Regions from separate parts of the Homo sapiens genome. Here all the other regions are linked to region 1. Evidence: promoter capture Hi-C in 16 types of primary human blood cells and fetal thymus (Javierre and others, 2016). All regions are on one chromosome and are shown on one strand. The core of a region is centred on a gene start or on the middle of the fragment in contact, and the rest is flanking DNA. Distances in the headings are between cores, read along the strand shown. Region 1 holds the start of WWC2-AS1 (WWC2 antisense RNA 1). Region 2 has its middle 44 kb from the start of WWC2-AS2. Region 3 holds the start of LOC107986328 (a long non-coding RNA gene). Region 4 has its middle 87 kb from the start of WWC2-AS2. Region 5 holds the start of LOC107986327 (a long non-coding RNA gene).

Region 1 (2,700 bases), core at 96-2,595:
CCTATAAAAATTGCTTGCAAGCAAACTGCTTTGAAACAATACAGCATTGTTACATCAATATAACAAAGACAGCAAGTTTGGCTAACCTTTAATCCCAAATGGTGACGCGAGTTATAATTTCATGTGCCTTAAAAATGTGGAACATATGGCTAAACACGTTACGGCACTCTTCAAACTCTGTTTTCTCTCCCCACCCCCACCACGAAGCCCTGCTTTATGCTGATAAACAATTACTAAATAATGCATTTATGTCATTCTAGTTCTGCCTGGTTTATCGGGGAGCTCTGCAACCAGCTGAGGTTCTTACAACAGGGCTGGACTTGAGAAGCACTTGGGATCTCATAAAATATACCTGGCATAGAGACTAGAAACATTATTTTTCTAAGCACTCTCCAGATTATTCTAATATGCAGTCAGGTTTGAGAACCACTAGGATGGGAGCATCTGAAGGAGTATCAGGGTCATGATTCTATGCGGTAAGCAGGAAAAAAGGAGTCTGGATGATAACAGCACGTGTGAAATTAAAGTCATGCGTCTGACTGGTGGTCAAGAGCAGTGCCTGCGTATCCCAAGATATGACTAATCACCCAAACAAGAACAACCAGTTTGTTTATCTGGCCAGTGACACACAGGATCTTTAAAGGGGCTTGCTGCTTGGAGCATCCCAAATAAGAGCAGAAGGTAAAGTAAGATTCCACAGGGAAAAGGAACACAGCTGGGTACTTTCCACAGAGGTGGCGCCTGAGACCAGCTTGGCATTCCTGAGGTGCTACCACGGGAGATGCCGGGAAGAACACGAAACCTGCCTGAACACAAAACTGACCAGGGACATCCCTAAAAATACTGCACCGCACTTGGAGGCACCAAGCAGGAGGGAAGTTTTAACTCCTCTCCGTGGTCATGTGGCTGTGAAAACCATGGACTGCTTCTCTCCCATGAGAGGCCCTGTGGAGTGGAGACTGCAGGATTAGAAAGTCTCAGGTGTGCCTGTCACGGTTTGGATAGGCTGGGCCTCAGCAGCAGGGAGAACAGTGGCTTTCAGGGGCCGGGAATGCGGAAGGGATATCCTCATCCTGTGACCCTCTGTCACCTCCATTTCCACTTTACCTGGCCCAGCTTAGGGCTCTGCTAACGGCCCAGCCAACTTCAGTAGCAAACGGGAAAGGTAGAGGAACCAGGAAGTGAGGAGCGCACTCCCGCTCCTTTGCTAATAATCCTAACTTGCTCTTGCTCCCCTGCCATCTGTCAGGGTTAGACTCTAGGTCATCCCTGGGGCTGGCAGAGAGAGAGAGAGAGACAGACACGCCTCCACCCAAGGGCCCAGGGCAGCTGCAGGCTCACACAGGGGTCAAGTACAGCCAGCCCAGCCGAATGTGGAGAGGAATTTCTTGTGCCTAGTCTCTTAGCTCTGTACCACAATCTCAGAGGAGGCCAGCAAGGGTCCAGGAGATAAAGGTAAGACAAAGGCTTTTCACTTTGGTTTCTTTGGATCTCCAATGATTAATAAAAACTTTGGATCTTTTCAAGTGCATAGATCTTTCCCAAGTTTTTTTATCTGTTGGTTGATTGCTTTATTTTCTTTTGGTGTAGAGCTCTGAACTTTTTTACTTTACGTTTCTTTAAGAAATCGCTTATGTAATCTGTACTTCTATTTTCTTTGTATTCATACTAGTTAGGGAGCTTATTCTAAAGTTGATTCAGTCTTTTCATACTCACTGCTGCAATGTTTCAAAGCCTTGTTCTTTATAGAGCAGTTCCTGCTTCATCTGTGAGAGCTCTCTCTTTAGCTTTTTAACCTTTAAAGAGAAATCAACATAAACATTAATGTTTGCAGATAATTAGCAACACAGTCTACAGTTTTAAAAGATAATAAATTAGTAAACAAACACATAAACAAAGCCATGAGTTAAAGTAACATTTACTTTATCAGTTTCTCCTTCACATAAATTCTGTGGAAGGCATATTAATGATGTTTAAAACTATCAGTGATGTGTATTATTACTACTATTTACCTTCATTACCTTACTTAGCAACATTCTTATGAGCTGGACATCATCATTGTCTCCAACCAAAATGGGCAGAATAAGAACTCCAAGTCATGGCATCTCTATAAAAGTGTGTGTTTTTCCTTCATTCACTGTGCCAAGGGCCACTGCCCACCCCTCCGTTCCTCAGATGTCCTGGCAGTTCCTTCTGCCTGGAAAGCTCTCCCCAGATCTCCCGCAGTTGACTCCCTGTCCCTCCAATGCTAGCTGAAATGTTATCTTTTCAAATAGGACTTCTCTAGCCCCCCTGCCCCTGCCACGGCTCTGTTTTATTTAGACCAGAGTATTTTTCAGGAGCTGAAATTCTCCGTGTACACTGTCTGTCCTCCGTGGGAAAGTAAGCTGCAACCCACCAGCTGTATCCCAAGCATCTACAACCATGCCAAGCAAACAGCAGATGATCAATAAATATTTGTTGTCAAACTGATAAAATATATTTTTCCTGTTGTCAAATATATACTTTGGTAATAACAATTCTAAAATTGGACAGATCAGAAAAGCAGCACACGCCTGGTTTAGTCACAAACTAATAAAGGTCTTCTCACAAGGGTTAGAAACTTACTTCCATATATTAAGTTAGAGCCTTAAGTTTTTTTCTGTTGTTTGTTTGTTTTTTTTTTGAGACAGAGTCTTGCTCTGTCGACCAGGCTGGAGT
Region 2 (2,700 bases), core at 5-2,504, 180 kb after region 1:
GTGGTGCGCGCTTGTAGTTCTAGCTACCTGGTAGGCTGAGGCAGGAGAATCCCTTGAACCCAGGAGGCAGAGGTTGCAGTGAACCGAGATTGTGTGACTGCACTCCAACCTAGGCAACAGAGTGGGATTCTGTCTCAAAAAAACAACAATAAAAACCCACAAAATACATATATAGTAAAATAGTTACTATGATGGAAAAAATTAATAAACATATTCATCATCTCACATAGTTACCCATTCCTCAGCCCCACACTATCCTTGGCCCCATCTGGTGACAAGTACAACTATAATCTGCCCATTTAGCAAAAATCCTGAATATAACACACTTTTTTTTTTTTTTTGAGACAGAGTCTTGCTTTGTCACCAGGCTGGAGTGCAGTGGCATGATCTCAGCTCACTGCCACCTCTGCCTCCCGGGTTCAAGCAATCCTCCTGCCTCAGCCTCCTGAGTAGCTGGGACTACAGGTGCGTGCCACCACGCCCAGCTAATTTTTTGTATTTTTAGTAGAGACAGGGTTTCACCATGTTGGCTCGATCTCTTGACCTCATGATCCACCCTCCTTGGCTTCCCAAATTGCTGGGATTACAGGCGTGAGCCACCACACCCAGCCTGACAAGGGATTCTTAACCAGAATATTTAAAAAGTTGAAACAACTCAATAGAAGAAAATCCCAAGTAATCCAATTAAAAATGGGCAATCAATCTGACTAGACATTTCTCAAAGGAAGACATGCAAATGGCCAACAGGTATATGAAAAAATGTCTAATATCACTAATCATCAGAGAAATGCAAATCAAAACTACAATAAGATATTAACTCACCCCAGTTAAAATAGCTTTTATTCAAAAGACAGGCAATAATAAATGCTGGAGAGGATGTGGAGAAAGGGGAACACCTGTACACTGTTGGTTGGAATGTAAATTAGTATAGCCACTATGGACAACAGTATGGAGGTTCCTCAAAAAACTAAACATAGAATGACCATGTGATCTAGCAATCTCACTGATAGGTATATATTCAAAAGAAAGGAGATCAGTATGTCAAAGAGATATGTGTACTCCCAGGTTTATTGCAGCACTATTCACAACAGACAAGACATGGAGTCGACCTAAGTGCCCACTAATGGATGAATGGATAAAGAAAATGTGGGGTATATACACAATGGAATATTATTCAGCCACAAAAGAGAATGAAATCCTGTCATTTGCAACAACATGGATGGAGCTAGAGGATACTATGTCAAGTGAAAAAAAGTGAGGCACAGAAAAACAAATATCTCATGTTCTTACTTATCTGTGGGAGTTTGGAAGAAAAAGTAAACTCATGGAAATAGAGAGTAGAATGATGGTTACCAGAAGCTAGGAAGGGTAGTTGGTCGGGAGGGGAAGGGTGGACAGAAAAAGGGAATAGTTAATGGATACAAAAATACAGTTAGATAGAAGGAATAAGACCTAGTATTTGGGAGCATAATAGGGTGACTATAGTTAATAATAATTTATTGTATATCTCAAAATGACTAAAACAGTGGAATTATAATGTTTCTAATACAAAGAAATGATAAATATTTGAGGTTTTGGATATTCTAATTACCCTAATTTGATTACTACACATTGCTTGTTTGTTTTAAAATATCACATGTACCCCATAAATATGTATAACTGTTATGTATTCATGTTAATTAAACATAAAAGATAATATATTTACTAGTCTTTAAGTGGAAGTTGGTCACCATAAAGGTCTTCATCCTTCTCATTTTCACATTGAGTAGGCTGAGAGGAAGAAAGAGGAGGGGTTGGTCTTGCTGTCTCAGGGTTGGCAGATACGGAAGAGGTGGAGGAGGTGGAAGAGGAGGCAGGAGAGGCAGGCACAGTAGGTGTAATTTTATGGAAATGCATTGTAACTTCTGCCTGACATTTTTGCTTTTTCGTTTCTCTAAAAATATTTGCATATGATGCCAATCATTTTTCCATCATGTGTTTTAGTGTCATTGCCTATATCATGGAAGGGTCTATGTTGTAAAAGAAGTCAAAAGCAGTCTTGAATAATCAAAACCCTTCTGCCAGATCATCTAATGCCAACTTGTTTTCTGGCACTGCCTCATTGTCTGGCGCTGGTTTGGAAGCACTCACTCCATCGTCGTTGTCTGTTGATTCCTCTAGGGTGGTGTCTGTTCACTCTTGAATTTCTCCTACATCAATATCTTAAAACTTTTTTTGGAGAGGCCAAAGTGGGCGGATCACCTGAGGTCAGGAGTTTGAGACCAGCCTGGCCAACATGGTGAAACCCCATCTCTATGAAAAATACAAAAAAATTAGCTGGGCATGGTGGTGCATACCTGTAATCTCAGCTCTGGAGGCTGAGGCAGGAGAATTGCTTAAACCTGGGAGGCGAAGGTTGCAGTGAGCCGAGATCGTGTCATGCCACTGCACTCTAGCCTGGGTGACAGAGTGAGACGCCATCTCAAAAAAAAAAAAAAAAAAAAAAAACCATAACACATTTTTTGTGTTTTTTTTTGTGTGTGTGTATTTTGTTTTTATTTTCCAAGATGCATATCTTGCAACCCTTTACTCTCCAGCTTTTTTTTTTTCATATCCACAATCTCTGTCTTGATTTCCTTGATTGGCTCTGTTGTAAATTCTGTGAAGTCATGCACAACATCTGGACACAGTTTTCTTCAGCAGGAATTTCTTGTTGTGGGC
Region 3 (2,700 bases), core at 39-2,538, 200 kb after region 1:
GGTAAAGCAACACATATTATAAGGATAAGATAAAATTTGATTACATAAGCACCTTAGCAGGCCTTAGGACATAAGAGGCTTCATCCATTTCTTCCTCCTTCCTGAGTGCCTGCAGGAGATGAATGAGACACAGTTTCCGCTCCCACAGAGCTTGCAATCTTTTAGGGGCAACCGGGTACTTACGCATGACGCCAGGCAGACAGTGATGAGTGCCATGAGAGCAACGGCTGCCTCCTATAGGGACAGAAAACACTTTCTCTCTACTCTCTGAGTTTTCATAATTGACTCCAGGACAGTAGGCAGATGAACAGGAGAAAAAAACATGCACATTTATTACACGGATGGGAGCAGCACGAGAAACAAAAGTGAGTACCCAAAACCCAGTGAAATTGACAAGCTTATCTACTTCTTCATAAAGAAGAGGGGATCGGGCATGTAGGCTGCTTAGGGGAGAATAAGTGCTTTTTGGGGAAGACGAACAGGCGATAGCCTATGGCGATGTCTGTGAGTGGCCCGGACCCCCAGTCTCTTCTCCTATGATACAGTGAATCTTGTCTCTGGAGGAGAAACTGAGTTCCTTTTTAGATCTATCTTTAAGGAGACAAGGAAAGTTCAGGGACAGCCCCTCCCTGTGCTTAGGGGAGAAAGAGGAGCGAGACACAAGGGCAAGAGAAGGTCAGAGAGATCTTAGTGCTGAGGCCATTGCTGAAGCCTTCCAATCTCCTCCAGTTCAAAGTACTCTGCAGGCCAGAGCGCCATATGTTCAGGTAGCTTTTTCTGAGCCCCAGCAATGGTCGGCTGTGACATCCAGGAAGGCTCTGAAGAGGACGTGGCATTCACCTGGCTCTTGAAGGACAGGGAATACTTGAAAAGAAAAAGATAGACAAAGGACTCAGACAAAAGAAATAGTTCTCTTTCTCTCACGTAACACTTGGATAACTTTGCCAGTCATCCATCCCTGCCTTGAGGGAATTGAACAGAGAGCAGGCCAATTCGGAAGAAGAGATGAAAGTCTGTTGTGGAGAGCCCCTTAAGGGTCCTTGAACATGTAGGACCAGCCAGAGGATAACGGGGTGTGCAGGTGTCCATCTAAGCACCACAGCTTAGTTGGGAGCAATCTTGGAATTCCAAGCCTCAGATCCCCACAGCCCTTTCTTCTCATCCCGCCTCTGGCAATGCCTAAACAGGAAACAATCCAGGGGAGGCACCGGCCCAGCCCCTCCCACCCAGGGACAGGCGAGAGCTGGTGTGTCAGCCTGTATCTCCACACTGGTGCCCCTGCTCAGAGGAATTGATTTATTCATGTAAAACTATCTCCATAGCCCAAAGCAAGCTCATTTATTTATCAATAATTTGAAAAGGAAAGTAGAAATCTTTCATGGGACTACTTCAGAATATTTCATAATGTTACCTCCCAAAAACTGGGGCTTATTTGCCTGGTGAGTAACAAACGACTCTCCAGGAGAACTCAGATTTTGATCAATAGGCATTGTGTTACTTGGCACAAGTAAGACACACACGGGAAGTGTTCTCCAAAGCCGTATCTTCCCAAGGGAAAGTGACAGGAGGGTTTGATGGAGTGATAGAGAAGGGAGAGGTGCATCATGGCATGTGTATGGGGGGGGGGGTCCCAGTGGCCCAGACCCCCCCTCTACATGCCATGATGGGTCACAGGTTATGATAATAAAGCTATAGCTCCTCTAGGGGAGGAGGGCTTTAGCATGGCATGAAGAAACTTCACTGGGGTTCATCTATAAGTTGCTGGGGTCTGTCAGTTGCTGGTTCCAACCAGCAAGGCGACTGCATTCCACACAGGCTGCAGGGCAAGAGGCTGTAAAACAGGCTGCTTCCTCAGGTTGATTATTCATTTCCTAAAATCCCTGGAAACCCTGTCTGTCTGCTTACAAAAGTACAGTGAATCCTTCATTTATGTGATCAGAGTTCATAGTATCTCCAGTCTGCATGCTTCGGATGACCACTCTGAACAGTGATGTTGCTTATAGAGCCAAGGTACGGAGTTCTCCCAATCTGTGCTGCTTGGTCAATGATTGGCAGTAACTTCCCCCGCCAGGTTGATAGAGAACTGCAATGGGAAACTTGCCTTGAAGAACAGATTTCCCTAAGGGAATCAGTGCTAAAGAACTGGTACATTATGAACGTGTTCTTTAGCAAAGCTTGTAAAGTATTTCAGAGGCCAAGGTGTATCAGGGTGTCGACAGGTATGAAACATGTTAAAGGTCTTGAGTGGCTGATGGTCCAGATCTTGTTAGCATCTCTCCTTAGAAAGGCAAACTCAGGGCCCACCCTACACCTCGATTTCCAGGTGATGCATATGCAGGCTAAAGTTGAAGACGTCTTGGTTTAGATATCTTTGAGAGGAAGTCGTAAGTCACCCTCCTCAACCACCTAGGAATGTTTCCTAGGAGAAAGAAAGTTGAACATTGCTATTTTTTTTACTCTGATGTTAATGTTGATATCAAACAGGTCAAATATTAATAATTTTCCTTTAATATACTTGATTCTACTAGTTACACCATTTACTTATAATACCTAATGCAATGTAAACGTTATGTAAGTAGTTGTTACCCTGTATTGTTTAGGAAATAAGGCCAAGAAAAAAGTCTGTACATTTTCAGTACAGATGCAACCATCCATTTTTTTTTCTACATATTTTTGATCCCTGGTTGGTTGAATCCATGG
Region 4 (2,750 bases), core at 96-2,595, 230 kb after region 1:
CACTCCAGCCTGGGCGACAGAGTGAGACTTTGTCTCTAAAAAAGAAGAAGAAGAAGAAGGAGAAGGGGAAGGGGAAGGGGAAGGGGAAGGGGAAGGGGAAGGGGGGAAGGAGGAGGAGGAGGAGGAGAAGGAGGAGGAGAAGGAGGAGAAGAGGAAGAGAAGAGGAAGAGGAAGAAGAGGAGGAAGAGGAAGAGGAAGAAGAGGAGGAAGAGGAAGAAGAGGAGGAAGAGGAAGAGGAAGAAAAAACGAATGATGAAGGAAAGTGACAAGATTTCCGCTTCCAGAAACCCAAGTCTTGACTTTATCCACATGGAAGGTGTGGCTCAGAATGCACTTTTCTTGGTGCGCTTTTCTTCCTAGCTTAGGGCATTTCCTTCTATTTCGGGATCCGTGGGTAGGACAGGGGCTTGTGGGGGCCCCCCTGTCTTTCACTTGGCTGTTCAGATTCTGCCATCTTCAGGAGAGGATGGCCCTGCAAGTGGATTCAATTCAGTTTCTTGGCTGCGGAGGATGAAAAAGCAAGGAGGGTCTCAGGAACGGAGCGCAGCTGTTAGGAGCGGCTCACAAGGGAGGAGGAAGATGTTTTCTCTCAGATACCCGTCCCAGCCTGTCACTGCTCTGGGTATGGGACCTGGGGGGTCAGAGATACAAATGTGTCTAGGCAGCCAAAATGTCAAGCAATTACACTGTTCCAAGGGCGGAAGGTAAATGTGTATGCCACACACAAAATACAATTGTGCTGACGGCACTTGGAGAAATGAGTGGCTATCTTAGCCTAAGCCAGTTCTCAAAATAGGAATGCTCGCTTGCTGAGAATTGGAGGAAAACCACGAATTCACTTCAAGGTATAGCGCTTTGGCTTGCCGGAAAGTTGCTGTGAGTGGGCAAGGATGGGGGCATTAGGATTGGGGGCTTGGGGTTGGGGGCAGATCTGCTGAGAGAACTAATGACTTGAGTTGGAGTGAAAACAAGAATAAAAGACTTTGTATTCAATTTCCACTCCCTTGAAACACACTACCCTGTGGGAGCCATACATAATTAATGATATTACCATGCAACAGTAGGACTACAGAGATACACTAATATTGATGAATATTTTTTCATTTTTATTGCACTTTTCAAGTATGCCAAAAAACATTAAAAGTTCATAAAAGAAAATAACTTGGCTCCATCACGACTGATCTCATACCTGCAAATGAGTCCATGGTACCACAAGCTTACTAGCCATCTGCGCTTATTGGGACAGTCCCATTTTTCACTATTTGTGGTCCCAGATGTCTGGACGTTTCGGATAAACTCCTGGGTTTGAGTACTGGCTTTTACCAGAAGGAACAGAGTCATGGGAGACTAAATCCCATTTTATTCCAGAAATACTTTGAGGAAGGAAGAAGACATGGGTAAATAAGATGCTGACTTTGTCAGCTGATGAGTATTCATTAATATCAACCGATATTCATTGACCTCTTAAGCTTAAAATTTATCACTCAAATTGTAGCTAACATAGCGTGGACTACACAATAGCTGTGCTTTTGCTAGTTGGTGGTTCTACTGCTATAGCCAACCGTGCTGAATTTTTTTTTGCTCAGAAGCTGATGTATTTGGGAGGGAAATAGCTTTCTGGCCCTTTAATAAATAATTCTAGTTAGTCCTTTCCCATCCATCCCAAATCAATAGGAAGCACAGTCAAGAGGAACCCATCATCTGGTATTGAAAGGTAGATGTGCAGAAGTCCACCCATGTGTGATAGAGACAGAATACTCAGCAGATATTTCCCAGGCTCCCCTGCAGGCTCAGCCCCTGCAGAGGGGAAGTGGATAAGCCTCATTTCTGGACTGAAGTTGCACGTTGAATGGGTAAAGCCCGTGGTCATAAGCAAGCTGGTTCAATGACATGGAAGACACAGCTGCAGTCACTGGAACCGCGATGGACTTTGTGTGTGCTGGAAATGAACCTTCATGGCGCTAAGTCACTGAGTTTTCAGACTTTATCTGTTACCCTAACATATCACTGCCTACACACACTAGTAGACTGTTTATCTTTTTTCTAAAGCAAGAAAAACCACATATCAATAAACATTTACTGTGCCCCTATTATATGCAAGCGGACATAGCAGTGAACTCCCTCCCAGAAGAGCACTTTCTCCACGGAAGTCTCTGACTCATCGTTCACTGTTCCCATGGGTGACTGATGACATCCCAAACTCTGAAGGCTGGTGACAATCCAAGTCAGGAATATCTATCACCCACTACCCACATGTGTGGAGGAAGCATTGGCTCTGATGCCAGAAACTCAAATTAGCTTTTGATATTTAATGTCATTTAATCTTGTCTGTTTACTTATTTAAAATAACTGTGACTTTCTTAGTTTTCAGTATGCATTAAAGTACATTTTGTACTTGATGGAAGATTAGTGTCTCTTGAAACGTATCATGTGAAGGAATTTTAGACTCTTTTTCTTCCCCAGTTAGGCTGCCACCAAGCCCTGCTGCTTCCATCACAAACTTTCCAAAGCACTCTCATTCTTGCACCTTCCCCATCAATGGGCTAAATTCAAAAACAAACCCTGACTTTCGGGTATATAGAAAGGAGATGGTGGGCAGACCAGAGAAAGTTAGTCACCTTTTAAAATCTCATCTGAGAGGCTTACTTACTTCATAATTCTCTTGAGTGATGTACCTGAGGGAGTCTATTATACCTTCAGAAAGAAAGAAAATGCTTTCTATTTTGTTGCTAATCTTACCATGGAACCTT
Region 5 (2,700 bases), core at 146-2,645, 250 kb after region 1:
TTTTTGTGTCACAAGACTTTATTTATTTATTTAATTTTTTTTTTCGAGACAGAATCTTGCTCTCTAGTCCAGGCTGGAGTGCAGTGGCACGGTCTCGGCTCACTGTAACCTCGGCCTTCCAGGTTCAAGCGATTCTCCTGCCTCAGCCTCCTGAGTAGCTGGGATTACAGATGCCCACCACCATGCCTGGCTAATTTTTGTATTTTTACTAGAGACAGGGTTTTGCTATGTTGGGCCCAACTGGTCTTGAACTCCTTACCTCATGATCCGCCTGCCTCAGCCTCCCAAAGTGCTAGGATTACAGGCATGAGCCACCTCTCCTGGCTGCACAACACTTTTAAATTACAGATTTAGTTTTGCTAATGATTGAGATTTTTTCTAAGTTTGTGTATTAGTTTGCTAGGACTGCCATAACAAAGTGACACAGACTGCATGGCTGAATCAACAGAAATGTGTTTCCTCACAGTTCTGGAGGCTGGAAGTCCAAGATCAAGGTGTCAGCAGGGTTGGCTTCTCCCAAGGCCCCTCTCTTTGGCTTGTAGTTGGCCACCTTCTCCCCGTGTCTTCACTCAGTCTTTCCTCGGTGTATCTGTGTCCTTATCTCCTCTTATGACACCAATCCTATTGGATTATGGCCCACCCTAATGATCTCATTTATACTTAATGGCCTCTTTAAAGACACTATCTCCAAATACAGGCATATTCTTAGGTACAGGTGGTTAGGACTTTAACATATGGATTTGGAGGGAACACAGTTCAGCTCATAATACGATGTATTCATCTCCTCTAGGTTTTCAAACGAATTGTCCCAAATTTGTTCATATCTTATAATCTGTTTTCTCTCCAGCCTCTAGAGATATGTGCATATTAATTCTTAATTAGTTTATATGTCTCTCTGTTTTTGTTTCATTAATCTTGCTGTTGTCTATTTTATTAGTATTGTCGAAGGCCAAATTTTTAGCTTTGTTGATTCTCTATCTTGGAACTATGTTTTTTATTTTATGCATTTCTGCTTTTATGTTTATTTTGTTGTTTCTTCTACTTTTGGGGGAATTATTCAGCTGTTTTTTTTCTTGCTCCATAAATTGGATGCTTAGGTCACACAGTTGAGACGTCTTTTCCAGTTTAAGCATTTGAGGCTATAAAACTCACTCTTAATACCATTATATCTCATATATTTTTAATATGTACTAGTTTGTTATTCTATTTTAAATATTTTATAGTTTCCATTAGAGTCTCTCGCTTCTGTGAAATTCTTTAGAAGTGTGTTTTGTATCTCTAAAGGTATGAGGATTTTCTACCTTTTTTGCTATTGATTTCCAATGTAATTGTCTAGCGGTTAAATAATACGTTCTGAACAATGCCAACCTGCTGGAATTTATTGAGGTTTTCTTAAAGCCTAGCATGTGGTCACTTCTCTAAATGGGTAAATGTATACTTGAAAAGAATATATATTCTGAGAGAGAGAGAGAGAGCGAATCATAGATCCTGATTGTCTATTGTGCTATTCTAATTTTTAACATTATTACTGACTTAAAAAAATCTGTCTCTACCAATTACTAAAACAAATGTTAGAAAAACTTCAACTATGATTGTGGATTTGTTAATATCTCTTGTAGCTGTCAATTTTTTACTTCATGTTATTTGAAACTATATTATTAGTTGTATAAATGTTGTATCTTCCTAATGAGTAGAATCTTAATCATTAGGTATAATATATGTCTAATATTACCCAGAATTGTTTTGGTTAACATTTACCTGGCATATCTTTATTCACTTTTTTGATTAAAATACATTTTTTTTATAGACAGAGTCTTGCTTTGTTGCCCAGACTGGAATGCAGTGGCACGGTCATAGCTCACTATAATCTCAAACTCCTGGGCTCAAGCAACCTTCTCGCCTCAGCCTCCTGAGCAGCTGGGACTACAGGTATGTACCACCATGCCTCGCTAATTTTTTTATTTTTAATTTTGTGGTAGAGATAGGGTCTCACTATGTTGCCCAGGCTATTCTCAAAATCCTGGTCTCAAATCATCCTTCCGCTTCAGCCTCTAAAAGCACTGGGACTACCGGCATGAGCCACTATGCTTAGCCCTTTTTTTTTTTAATTACTGTATCCTTATGTTTTAGATAAGTCTTTTATAAATATCTTGATTTCATATTTTTTTTCAGTTTAATAATATTTGTCTTTTAATTGGCAGGTTTCACTTAACTATTTTTTTATCTATTTATATTTGGATTAATTTATTACATCTTGTTGTATATTTTCTATTTGTTGTGCTTTCTTTTTTCCTTTTCTTCTTCTTTTTTTTTTTTAGACAGAGTCTTGCTCTGTCACCCAGGCTGTGCAATGGCACGATCTTGGCTCACTGCAGCCTCTGCCTCCTGAATTCAAGTGATTCTCTTGCCTCAGCCTCTCGAGTAGCTGGGATTACAGGTGCCCACCACCACACCCAGCTAATTTTTGTATTTTTAGTAGAGATGGGGTTTTACCCTGTTGGCCAGTCTGGTCTCGAACTCCTGACCTCAGGTGATCCGCCTGCGTCGGCCTCCCAAAGTGCTGGGATTATAGGTGTGAGCCACCGCGCCTAGCCTCTTTTCTTCTTTATGAATTATTTATTTTTCCTTCTCTATTAGTTTAGAAGTTATATTGTGATGTCTATTATTTTAGCAGTAACTTTAGTTACTTAAAATGCATGG

What was found. Contacts are between HindIII fragments. The CHiCAGO score rates a contact against its expected background, and 5 or more counts as called.
Region 2: a fragment that was not itself captured here is called in contact with the fragment with the promoter of WWC2-AS1 in region 1 in 7 of 17 cell types (monocytes, naive CD4 T cells, fetal thymus and 4 more); the score reaches 6.1 in monocytes.
Region 3: a contact is called between a fragment that was not itself captured here and the fragment with the promoter of WWC2-AS1 in region 1, in 1 of 17 cell types (megakaryocytes). The highest score is 6.3, in megakaryocytes.
Region 4: a contact is called between a fragment that was not itself captured here and the fragment with the promoter of WWC2-AS1 in region 1, in 2 of 17 cell types (megakaryocytes and erythroblasts). The highest score is 7.2, in megakaryocytes.
Region 5: a contact is called between a fragment that was not itself captured here and the fragment with the promoter of WWC2-AS1 in region 1, in 1 of 17 cell types (megakaryocytes). The highest score is 5.6, in megakaryocytes.

The regions. Positions count from the first base shown.
Region 1 is chr4:183,239,279-183,241,978 of GRCh38, reverse strand. It overlaps WWC2-AS1 (WWC2 antisense RNA 1), which reads left to right and starts at 1,345. Exons shown (of 2, transcript NR_126473.1): 1 at 1,345-1,455. It overlaps WWC2 (WW and C2 domain containing 2), which reads right to left. Exons shown (of 23, transcript NM_024949.6): 5 at 1,717-1,796. The HindIII fragment of the contact is 11,540 bases long and covers 1-2,700 here.
Region 2 is chr4:183,054,293-183,056,992 of GRCh38, reverse strand. No RefSeq gene overlaps it. Among named protein-coding and RNA genes, the nearest start is that of WWC2-AS2, 44 kb to the left of the region's middle. The HindIII fragment of the contact is 8,021 bases long and covers 1-2,700 here.
Region 3 is chr4:183,034,716-183,037,415 of GRCh38, reverse strand. It overlaps LOC112268472 (a long non-coding RNA gene), which reads right to left. Exons shown (of 3, transcript XR_002959823.2): 3 at 1,812-2,419. It overlaps LOC107986328 (a long non-coding RNA gene), which reads left to right and starts at 287. Exons shown (of 2, transcript XR_007058409.1): 1 at 287-365. The HindIII fragment of the contact is 1,777 bases long and covers 400-2,176 here.
Region 4 is chr4:183,010,773-183,013,522 of GRCh38, reverse strand. No RefSeq gene overlaps it. Among named protein-coding and RNA genes, the nearest start is that of WWC2-AS2, 87 kb to the left of the region's middle. The HindIII fragment of the contact is 253 bases long and covers 1,219-1,471 here.
Region 5 is chr4:182,985,225-182,987,924 of GRCh38, reverse strand. LOC107986327 (a long non-coding RNA gene) reads left to right here and starts at 1,891. Exons shown (of 3, transcript XR_001741935.1): 1 at 1,891-1,929. The HindIII fragment of the contact is 4,736 bases long and covers 1-2,700 here.